4 separate regions of the Homo sapiens genome follow, and regions 1, 2 and 4 are each linked to region 3. The links are contacts of gene promoters, found by promoter capture Hi-C in blood cells and fetal thymus (Javierre and others, 2016). All regions are on one chromosome and are shown on one strand. Each heading gives the region's core, a stretch centred on a gene start or on the middle of the fragment in contact. The rest is flanking DNA. Distances are from core to core; before and after follow the strand shown.

Region 1 (2,850 bases), core at 178-2,677, 150 kb before region 3:
TGGCCTGGGTCATGCTCCCATCCCGTCCCCGCGATGCCTCCGACAACTCTCTGCCTGCCCTCTGTGAGTGCTGTGGGGTGAGCCCAGCTTTGTCCCTGATGAGATAGGAGGCCCATGTCTGCCCAGCCCTGCGGGAGGGTGCAAGTGCTGTGTGCACTAAACAACACGCTGCGCGGGAAGAGAAATCCTCACCCGCTCTTTGCTCTCCTCCCGATATAGCTCTGAGGCTAGATCCAGAAGGGCAGCGCTGCCTGCTAGGGACCCTTCCGTCTCACTGCTGTCCCCACCTCTCCTGTGCAGTAGGAGCTTCTGACATCAGCAAGGAGCAGACATCCCAAAGCTGGGTCTCGGTCTCTTCATGCACGTGATTTGTCATGCACCACCTCCTGTCCACCCTCCTGGCTCAACAGTGGGGGATGCTATTAAGCATCCCCATCACAAAAGGCCCCCCAGGATAGCACACAGGGGAGACCTGGCTAAGGTTTCCATGGGAACGATTTAAATCTTATTAGTTTTGTCCTCATATAGCTGTGACACGGCACTGCCTGTCCTCACATGGAGAGATTCCCTATCGAAAAGGTCAGGGACAAACGGCCGCTCTGACTGCAGACTGCAAATGTCCTTCCTGTGCTGCCGGGGCATGTCACACCCTGTGAACATGGCCCCAGGCTGAGGCGTAGATGTCTATTAACATTCTGCATTATCCTCCCCAATCTACACACGTGTGTGTATGAGACATATTTTCAAACAAAGCAAATGATATGCTTTTTGGCACACTAGAGGAAACTAATGTTAACTCTTCTCTCCCAGAGGCGTATTCATGGCAGATTAATGAAGCAGGTCTCTTAAGAACTCCCTGCTTAAAAATGCATAAAACTTTTTAAAAAGGTGGCTTTCCTTTTAAAACAGTTTCCTTTCAGAAGTACATGACAGAGAACGATGCACCCAGCATCCCCTCTCATCCCTGCACTTACTACCCTGCCCGGCGGGCTGGTGCCTGGTGCAGGGCTGGGATGGTGGGTTTGATCCTGCTGTGAGATGGCAACATTTTCAGGAGTCGGCTCTAGTCAGGCCTGATTACAGGTGGATAACCCATCGTATTATTTAATCTCTCTGAGCTTTACTTTAAAAAAAAAAAACAAAGAACAAAAAAAAAAACAATACACGGTTGACATCTGACATCAGCATTCACTTGGCCAGGCACTGGGCTGGCATGGGACGAAGGCATGAGGACCCACAGTCCTGTCTCTGGGAGGGCTGAGCCTCCAGATAGAGGCAGGTGCACAGCAACGCCCTTAGCACAGCACCGCTGGGTCTCAGAGGGCCACGGGCGTCGAGTGTAGCATGAGAGAGGGGTCCACGCAGCAAGAGGCATCCACACCCCCTCGCTCAAGAATCTGTCCCTACCCAGACTCTGGAGTGAGCCAGTTGTGAGGAGGTGTTCAGAATGAAAACTCAGCTTCCTGGCCCCCTTCCCTGGCTTCCTGCTTGCCCCAGAGCTCCAGAAGGGGAAGACATTGACGCTAAAACCAAGGCTGTTATATCAGAGGAGACATTCTAAGACTAAGTGCAGACAGTGTGCGCAACATGACCTAACCATAGAACTTTCTGGTAACTCAATGTTTTCAGAAAATCATTGAACTGTCTCAGTTTTCTTCCAGGGCGTCCTCTACTTGACTAGATTTTAGAGCCATAGAGACAGTCAAAATTTGCTTTCTGATCTTGTCTCCAAACTCTTTCAAGGTGCTGGCTATAATCCATAACTATATTTTAGCTCTGACATTCTAACGTTTTATCTAGACAGGTCTTTTATAGTATGAAGTCTGAATACTTAAAAAAAAAAAAACTTTGAACATAATGTTAGTAAAATGCTTTAAAGGGAGAGGCTTGAGAGATTTTTTTTTTTTAACAGAAGCCAAGTTGGCTTCATGTTTATGCAAAAGGAAAAAAGATTTTCTGACTAAGCCAAAGTACTAAAGAAATAACAGTTAAAATTATTAGGTTGAAAAATGTACCCAGCTGCATTTTTAAATTAAATTCAATGTCATAGAAAGTTCATATTCTTGTAACGCAAACAACAGCCAGTTTCTGTCAAGATTCTCTCTGGAAAATATTCTCAGAAGAGCCTGAAAGTCTCAGAAGTCTAAATTAATCAATTTTATTGCCCTACGTACTGACTTTTGTACCAAATGGCATTATATTAAAGCTATAAACTGCCCCAAAGCAAATGATATACGACACTTTAATAAACACACTCTTGAAAACAAATGTCAATGCCATGAAAAATGCTGTTTGAGTTTTTTTTTAAGTGGGCTACATATTTTTTTCTTTTTCTTTCTTTTTTTTTTTTTTTTTTAGAGACGGGGTCTCAATATGTTGCCCAGGCTGGACTTGAACTCCTGAGTAGTTGAGACTATAGGTACATGCCACTGGGCCCAGCTATCTCTAGCATTTCTTTTAGAAAGCAAAAATATACAAACAACAGGTCTCTGCATGCAGCTAAACTGGGAGTCTCTGGATATTGTCCTCTGGTCTCCTCTGCCGTCCACTCCCCATCCGGCCATGTTTTCATGTAAGCCCACCCTCCAGGGCTGTGTCTCAGTGGTGAGACCCTGCTCAGGTCAAGAACCCGAGAATCAGTGCAGGGAGAGGGAGAGCAGATGCCAGCAATCCAAACTCAGAATCCGCCTGCAAGGTCCACACAATGATGTTCTGCATATGGAGTGTCGCCTGCACACATCTGTCACTCTGCTCTTTACCAGACAAGCCTGGGGCCCAGAATAGATATGAAAACAAAGCCAAAGAGAGTCCACAGACTCTTTACAGTTTCATTGTATGACCCCGGAGTAT
Region 2 (2,751 bases), core at 7-2,506, 190 kb before region 3:
TTCTATGAGAAAATATACCAAGATTTTTTTCAATTTTTATCTATTCACTCCAAGCAATTATGATGATGGTATGGCTATCTAAAATGTATTCAATTTGATGCACAGCAACTAGAATTTGATAATTCCAGGATTGTTAGGCATTGTAAGATCTTAACTCCAATCTCCACATGATGAATGGAACCTCTCTCCTGCATGAAAGGTGAATAGTAGCTTCCTCATCTATTATTCTTATACCATCCAAGAGAGCCATCAGATGGGAGTTACTTTAATATTTGGCAAACTAAAAAAACTTGAGAATCAGAGAAGGGAGTGCATTTCCAAGTGCATCTAGCTAGCAAATGAATTGAGGATGACATCCCAGGTCTCCTGACTGTCTAACATCTTACTGCCTCTGCTACACCCTTGCCAAGGGACTCCCCAATTTCCTCCAGATTAGAAAGTCCTTCCTCATTAAGCTGTCCCTAAACCTTGCATCTGGCATGGAACACAGAGCGCTCACTCAGGAGGTATTTATTGAGCCTCTAAGAGGTACCAGGTGCTGCAATAGAGCTGGGCTAGACTTTACTTAGAAAAACAGGTTAATCATCAATAACTTAGGATCTATTGTAAATAAGTACAATGCAATTCATTGTTTCAATCTGTTGTATAGGGTATATAGAAAGGTCTGTATGGCACAGAGACAGAGCATGACAGCTTTAAACCTCTAATTTTCCACTACTAAAGCTGTATAATAGTCCCCATAAGCATCCCTTCTCACCTCCTGTTGATGTATGGGCAGTTTCTCTGATAAACACCAGACTGGCAGGACCCCCTGGGGGTGAGATCCAGCAGACCCTGGCAAGGAACGTCAGGGTCCTCAGCAGATGGAGGCTCCAAAGAACTAAGAGCCCCAAGGTGAGGGGCTGAAATGCTGTTCCAGGCAGACAGACTGCCGGGGAGTTTTTGGTGCACATATTTAATATTGTCCTCACTGCAATGGAAGCAGGCGCATGAGATACACAAACAAGGAAGCCACAAGGAGATGCCTCCAAAGTAGGTATTGAGGCAAGAGAAGAGAAGGCCACAACTGGGGGGGAGACCATGGAATTTGAATCAAGTGTGGGCCCCAAGGACTGAACAAAATGTGTAGTGGGGATTCCCTAACACAGGGGAGGGAACACTTGAGGGCAGCAGCAGGAAATGCCATTGGGAGGATATTGAAAACCCGAAAAGTGGAATGGGGCCAGTGCTGCAGGAACCATAACTGGAATGACCTAGAAGAGAGTTAAGAGCCAAGATACCCTCAGATTGAGAATGGTGGGTGGGCTGAGGAGGGATGGTTGGTGTGTGGCTGAAGTACTCAAGATAAATCAGTGCATTGACATATGAATTTGGGGGGATGGAGGAATGACACAATTCAGTCTATAACAGTCATAAGTGGCAGAGGAGAGACATGTCCCAAGATAAGGAGGGAGGTTCACAGTTGCCTGAGAAATTGATGGTAGCATGGGAGAAGTTAGGTTGTAAGGGAAGCACAGAGGGCACATCTTACCATGGGTGTGGGATGACAGGAAGCAAGTTCAGTCTGGCATAGAGAGACCTTCGAAGGAGACCAACAGTGAGCATGTCAGAAAGGGTATAGTAAGATCAGAACGGCCACCATGAGGCTTTCCTCCACCTGGCTAGTGCATTTTATAGGCTTCCCAATTTGTAAGAGAACCAAGACCACAGAGAAATAAAGTCATTAACTCTAATGCTAAAATCAGTTTTATGGGTGAGAAATTCCCAGCAAACCACTGGGCTAGGGCTGGGGAAGGAAATAAAGCCTTTACCTAGTCTTCTGACTAGTTACTGGGCAGAGCAGAGGCTCCATAAGGACCCTCACTAGACGTCAGTAGGTTACAGAGTGTGCATGCTCGCCCAGCATCTGGGTAGGAAGGTCTAAACAATGAGAGGAAGCAAGTGACAAGGTAAGTCACTTGCTCTGAGGAAAGTCCTAGAGACCTGCACAGGACAGTGCTAGTTTTGCTCCGTGGATGCTTTTTGTGAACTCCATTCTCCACTGGTAAGAAAAAACCTGGGATTTTCAGTTTAATTCCTGAGAATCAACTTAGAATCATAGGCATGAATGAAATTTGGAACTGTGAATGTTTGGTCTGGGAAAGTGCAGACTTAATAAATGGTACCTGCTGGGGTTTCAGACTCACCTGTGCAGTAGCCTACACAGGAGTGGGTAATGGCTTTGCTTAGACTCTCCTGGCCATGCAAATGGTAAGATATAAACATGCTGGGGAGGTATTTAGGGGTAAAATTGAAAACTTAGTGAAAGATTAGATGTGTGAGTGCTAAAGAGGTCAGTGTCAAGAATGGTTTTGAGAAGGAACAGTGGAGAGGATGGCGGTGTCAGTACTAAGTTATGGAGCTGCAGGGAAGGAGTAGGCTAAAGGTGGTATAATGGTTTCAAACATTAATTTGGGAGCAGGTGTAATTTTAAGAACTTTTGAGACCAAATCAAGATGCAATACTGAGCATGAACCATTCAGTGTGTGAAACTGCAGCTCAGAGAAACAGTTTCAGCTGGGTAGGTTGGGGGCATTGCCTGGAAAAGAAAGCTTACTGAGAAGAGCTACAAGGCTCAGGATTGAATAATTCCATCATTTGCAAAGCTTAGAAGAGAAGAGAAGGCACAAAGCAGGCTGAGAAAAAAATTGCCAGAAAGGTGGGAAGGAAACTGGGAGAGTGAGAGCTACAGGACAGTAAAGGAAGGGAGAG
Region 3 (2,927 bases), core at 318-2,817:
TACATTAAAATGAGAACATTATGATGGGCCCTAACCCAATCTGACTGGTGTCCTTCCCAGAAGAGGAAATTTGGAACTTCAAGGAGACGCCAAGGATGCAAGCACAAAGGAAAGGTCCCGTGAGAACACAGAGAGAAGGAGGCGGTCTGCACGCTAGAAAGAGAGGCCTCAGAAAAAGCAAACCCTGCTGGCAACTTGATCTCCAGCTTCTCTGGCCACCTGAACTTTGAGAAAACAAATTTTCTATTGTTTAGGCGGCCCAGTCCGTGGTATTTTGTTATGGCAGCCAGGATAGACTAATACATCCAGAGAGGTGGATGGCATAGGGAAAAGGTCAAGCAGGCTTGAGGATGCAGTACTGTCTTAGAGAAGAAAAGGGAGTAACTAGAAGACTCTTACTTCCATATACTACATACACGTGAAACCACCGGTACATGCTAAATGTCCAAAAGTGAAATTCCTGAGAAAGAATAAAAACTATTCTATTCTCAAAGAGCTAAAAAATTTTAAACTCCTAATTCTTCTTTCTTCTTAGCCTATTAACCCACACTCCAACCACCTATCTATATTTCACGTTTGTTAAGACTTTTTTTTTCAGAATTAAATATAATCCCAAGTTTAAGTCCAATACTATTAAGACATAAAAAAAAAACTGCTTTCAGCTCATCTAATGTTTTCAATCTTCGTCTCAATTCTATTTTTTTGAGAGAGTTTCCCTGGAGAATATTATCTTTTTGTTTGTTTTTGGTTTGCTTGACATCATTTTTAAAAGGCATCAGTTAATGAGTAAACACAGAATAAAATATCCAAATAACTGCGCAAACACTGTTACACTGTTAGGCAGTTACACTGTTAGGCAGCAACAGTGCTGATGCTGGACTGTGGCAGGCAGAGGGTGCTATCCTGACACACTTCACCTTAGTGCAGGAAACTTCAATTTGGTGGAAGAAAGGCGATTTCGAGGTGCCAATCTGGGCGACACTTCCCAGTTGGAGAGTCAGCAAAAGGGAGAGGGCAATTCCAAGAAGAGGGAAAAGCTTGTGCACAGGTGAGTGTGTGCAAAGGTGAGTGTGTGCACAGGTGAGTGAGTGCACAGGTGAGATAAGATACAGGAGAGGGAAGAGCCAGAACTGCGCCCTGTTCCCGCAGGAAAGCAGCTCTGCAGGATTAGAGGGGCGGGGACGCGTGGTCAGAGCTAGGAGTTGAGGTCGGGGAGGGAGCCCATGGTCTGCAGGGCCTGGTCAGTCATCCAAGGGCAGTAGTGCGCCTGCAAGTGGGCGTTGAAGAGCCCGTTACACCGGGAAGGGACTTCTCTGTCCCTCGCGCGTGCACCCCCGCCCCCCTCCATGCACCCGGCATAAGCCGCAGAGGAGGAACTCAAACCAGGGTCGGGGCCGCCAGCCACCCGCAGAACGCACACGGAGCTACCTTGGGGCCGACGGCGCGGGGCCTCATTCGGTGTCAGCCCCGGGAGCCGGCGCCTGGGGACCGCGCAGGCCCGCGGAGCCGCGCACCTGGGGCCCCGGGGCCAAGCGTCTGCTCCCGAGCGCCGGCCGTTTATCGCGCACATCTCGCGGCGAGGAGGAGAGGCCGGAAGGGCGCCCCAGCCCCAGGGCTCCTGCCCCGCCTGGGCCTCCGGCTTTCGTTTCCCCGCAACGCTTCGCTTTCGTTTCCCGCTGGCGCCTGGCTCCCTCCGGGTTTCGTTTCCCGCCGGCGCCTGGCTCCCGCCAGGTTTCGTTTCCGAGGCGGGGCCGAGGGCGGCGTCGCTGAGGCGCCCATGGCCTTCGCCCGCCGGCTCCTGCGCGGGCCACTGTCGGGGCCGCTGCTCGGGCGGCGCGGGGTCTGCGCTGGGGCCATGGCTCCGCCGCGCCGCTTCGTCCTGGAGCTTCCCGACTGCACCCTGGCTCACTTCGCCCTAGGCGCCGACGCCCCCGGCGACGCAGACGCCCCCGACCCCCGCCTGGCGGCGCTGCTGGGGCCCCCGGAGCGCAGCTACTCGCTGTGCGTGCCCGTGACCCCGGACGCCGGCTGCGGGGCCCGGGTCCGGGCGGCGCGGCTGCACCAGCGCCTGCTGCACCAGCTGCGCCGCGGCCCCTTCCAGCGGTGCCAGCTGCTCAGGCTGCTCTGCTACTGCCCGGGCGGCCAGGCCGGCGGCGCACAGCAAGGCTTCCTGCTGCGCGACCCCCTGGATGACCCTGACACCCGGCAAGCGCTGCTCGAGCTGCTGGGCGCCTGTCAGGAGGCACCACGCCCGCACTTGGGCGAGTTCGAGGCCGACCCGCGCGGCCAGCTGTGGCAGCGCCTCTGGGAGGTGCAAGACGGCAGGCGGCTGCAGGTGGGCTGCGCACAGGTCGTGCCCGTCCCGGAGCCCCCGCTGCACCCGGTGGTGCCAGACTTGCCCAGTTCCGTGGTCTTCCCGGACCGGGAAGCCGCCCGGGCCGTTTTGGAGGAGGTAAGAGTTCTGTCCGCTTCCAGCTCCCAGCGTGGCATCTGAACCCTTCAGACCAGAGAACTGGACCAAGAGGCTGGTCTGTAGAGCCGGTTCTTGCCTGGGTGGTTTGTTTATTTCCGTTCACAAATCAGGTAGGGAAGGTGTCCTGTATGCCAGGCAACTCTTTTAAGATTCTTGTTTGCAAGGATCTTCCAACCTGACGTGGAACATAGACCTACACCAAGCCACGCGATGCTTGCTGTAAAAGCATCCCAACAGCAGTACAGAGGGAGTAAAGGGGCTGCCGGGAGTGAGGGAAAATAATGTCAGCTGGGAAGTAATTTTATTTGCTGATGATCACCATTCAAGGATCTTGGGGTGAAAAAGAAAATGCATGAGTTTAGGGGGTTTAAGAAATTTAGACTTAAATAGTGTTTACCTACCGACTGGCCATGAACCTTGTGCAGGTTACTCAACTACTCTAAGTTTTGCCCTT
Region 4 (2,700 bases), core at 154-2,653, 210 kb before region 3:
GTTGGAAAATTGTCTCTGCCTGTAATCACCTTCATTCTTTTGTCTGATCAGTAAATACTTTATCTTTCACGATTCAGTTTAAACATTGGCTCCTCTGGGAAAATTCTGTCCCTCCACCACCATTATACTTACCATAAGAAGCTTATTCTATTATAACTTCTTATTCACAGGGTGATGAAACCATTCAGCATTAGTTTGCATGTCTCTTTATCATTACTATCCTATTGCGTTCTAAGCATTTGCTCACCCATCTTTCTCTGTCTTCTAGACCAGCTTCCGCAGGAATGAACCCAGAAAACAGTCTACAACTATATTTCCAGCACAGGGGCTGGCACACACTGAGTGCTGAACTGAACTGAACAGATGCTGTAAGCAAGAAAGAGTCAAATTTTGCAAGATTTTACTGAGGAGGAAGGCACTACCTCAAAGCCAGGTATTGTATATGAGTTATTCTGCTGTCATAAACCATGACTGGCACTAGCTACAGGCACCCCTGCAGGATGGGCTTCCCCACAGCATGTCCCACAGGACATCCATGGCCAATGAACTGTTGCTAATTCACAATAACTCCTGAGATGTATGTGTTAGGATGGGTGATGCTACAGACCCCCCTGCCTCCCTGCATGAACTGTATACAGGGTTGTATGCACCCACTGGTGTGCCAAGTGGTTCAGAAACTGACTTATGAACTAACTGGGAGTTATTCTTCTGATAATTGCTTACCTTGTGCTACTTTAAATTTTCTCTAATAATATTCAGGAGGACTTAGTATAACCACACTAATGGGGTTTCAAAAGGTTTTGTTTCATCTCCACAGTCTAGCTGAAATAGCATCCTATTGATTGGCAATATGTACCAGGAATCTTTAAAGTGTTTTTGGTCCCCTTTGAACCATCTATTCGCTTTCCGTGAAACTCCTAAGGTAGCAATCAGGCTAGCAAAAAATATAGTGTGGCAACAGAATCATTTATAATCCAAAAATGGGAAAACAACCAAGCTATATTTACAAATAATTTCTAGTAAAGTAAGAAATTGCAGTATCATTTTAGTACAAAATAGAAATCAATTATATTGACAATGAATTTCTTATACAGTAACACATATTTAATATTAGAAAAAAACTGTCAACCACACAGGCCATCTTCCCCTCAGCAAGCCCTAGGGAAAGGGCTTGGAGTTTTAAGCATGGACATCCAGGAAACTGCTCCATGTGCATACAGAAACACAGGGAGGCTCAATGCAGCATTGATTTTGCAATTAAGAAAAATTAGAAACAAATGTTCATCAAAACAGCATGATGCAATAATTATAGTTATTCACAACATACACAATAAGGAGCAGAGATTTTTCAAACTTTTTTGACCACAAAGTACAGTAAGAAACACATTTTACAGGGTGAACCAGTAATGGCAGATTACGCTTTCCAAGGAGGCCTCAACAATATGACCTGTTTCACATGTCCCCCCTTCCCCTTAGACTTGAGCAACCTTTGCAACTGGCTTGGTCAGTAGCATATAGTGGAAGTGATGCCATGTGTCTTTCAAGGCTGAATGTCTTAATCCATTTTCTGTTGCCATATAGAACACCTGAGACTGGGTAATTTATAAAAAATAGAGGTAATTTTACTCACAGTTCTGGAGGCTGAAAAGTCCAAGATCAGGTGGCTGCATCTGGTGAGAACCTTTCTGCTTTGTCATGACACGGCAGGAGGCATCAAATCACTAAAAAAGCAAATGTGCTATCTAAGGTCTTTCTTCCTCTTCTTATAAAGCCACCAGTTGCATCATGAGGGCCCTGATGACCTTATCTATTTCTAATTGCCTCTTTAAAACCCCACTTCCAAACACCATCAACATATAAATTTAGAGATTTAGAGATTAAGTTTCCAACACACGAAATTTTGGGAGAGATGTTCAATCCATAGCACTGTGTCATAAAAATGCTAACACTTTAGCCTTATTCACCTGGAGCCCATCATGCTGGGAGGAAGCTCAAACTGGCCCATGAGAAGAGAACACTGTGTGGGGGGGGGGATGTTCCAGCTGATAGCCCAGCTGAGGCCCCAGCTGCCATTAATCATGAGATAGAAATAAAGATGCCTCCTGATGATTCTGGTGGGAGAGTGGGGTAGAAGAGGAAAGATGTCTTCCCAACATTTTATTATTCCCATCTGGGGCTGCAGATGTCATGGAGCAGAGGTGAGCCATCCACCATCCACACTGTGCCTTGCCCAACTTCTAATCTGTAGAATCCATGGGTATAAAAAAAGTTTTGGGAAGGTTAGTAGCAATTGTACCTGGAATGCAAGTATTTGCAACAGAAATAAAACTTTTACTAATAATTCTTACACTTAAAAATTTTCAAGTCATGCTATAGAAAAAAATTGAGAACCTCCTCTTCCATGTCATTCTTTGATCACTCAATCCCATCTCGTTCAAATAAATTCTAAAGATACAGGGATTCCTTCCTTCCCCCCCTCCTTCTTTCTTCCCTTCTCTCCTTCCTTTCTTCCATCCTTTTTTCCTTCCTTCCTTCCTTTTTTTCTTCCTTTCTCTTCTTCCACCTAGAAATACTCATTGTTCACCTCCTATGTTTCAGGTACTCTGCTCAGTGTGGGGACTCTAGGAGTGACATAGACACAGATGTTTCTTCCCCACAAAGCTTATAACCCAGATGAAAGGACAGACATATGAGTTTTAA

What was found. The method cuts DNA at HindIII sites, captures the fragments that hold promoters and counts their contacts. A CHiCAGO score of 5 or more calls a contact.
Region 1: a fragment that was not itself captured here is called in contact with the fragment with the promoter of CMPK2 in region 3 in 4 of 17 cell types (erythroblasts, activated CD4 T cells, non-activated CD4 T cells and 1 more); the score reaches 9.5 in erythroblasts.
Region 2: a fragment that was not itself captured here is called in contact with the fragment with the promoter of CMPK2 in region 3 in 10 of 17 cell types (activated CD4 T cells, non-activated CD4 T cells, fetal thymus and 7 more); the score reaches 17.5 in activated CD4 T cells.
Region 4: a contact is called between a fragment that was not itself captured here and the fragment with the promoter of CMPK2 in region 3, in 1 of 17 cell types (non-activated CD4 T cells). The highest score is 5.1, in non-activated CD4 T cells.

Annotation. Positions count from the first base shown.
Region 1 is chr2:7,015,611-7,018,460 of GRCh38, reverse strand. All of the region lies in intron 5 of RNF144A (ring finger protein 144A), which reads right to left. Among named protein-coding and RNA genes, the nearest start is that of GRASLND, 98 kb to the right of the region's middle. RefSeq lists an enhancer at 794-1,293. The HindIII fragment of the contact is 6,199 bases long and covers 1-2,850 here.
Region 2 is chr2:7,055,079-7,057,829 of GRCh38, reverse strand. It overlaps a transcript of RNF144A not described here. Among named protein-coding and RNA genes, the nearest start is that of GRASLND, 140 kb to the right of the region's middle. The HindIII fragment of the contact is 2,674 bases long and covers 1-2,593 here.
Region 3 is chr2:6,864,547-6,867,473 of GRCh38, reverse strand. CMPK2 (cytidine/uridine monophosphate kinase 2) reads left to right here and starts at 1,567. Exons shown (of 5, transcript NM_207315.4): 1 at 1,567-2,452. The coding sequence starts at 1,778. It also overlaps a transcript of RSAD2 not described here. RefSeq lists silencers at 1,307-1,576, 1,817-2,256 and an enhancer at 1,577-1,796. The HindIII fragment of the contact is 2,067 bases long and covers 1,040-2,927 here.
Region 4 is chr2:7,074,615-7,077,314 of GRCh38, reverse strand. LOC101929452 (a long non-coding RNA gene) reads left to right here. Exons shown (of 3, transcript NR_110252.1): 2 at 269-433. It also overlaps a transcript of RNF144A not described here. Among named protein-coding and RNA genes, the nearest start is that of GRASLND, 160 kb to the right of the region's middle. The HindIII fragment of the contact is 2,520 bases long and covers 144-2,663 here.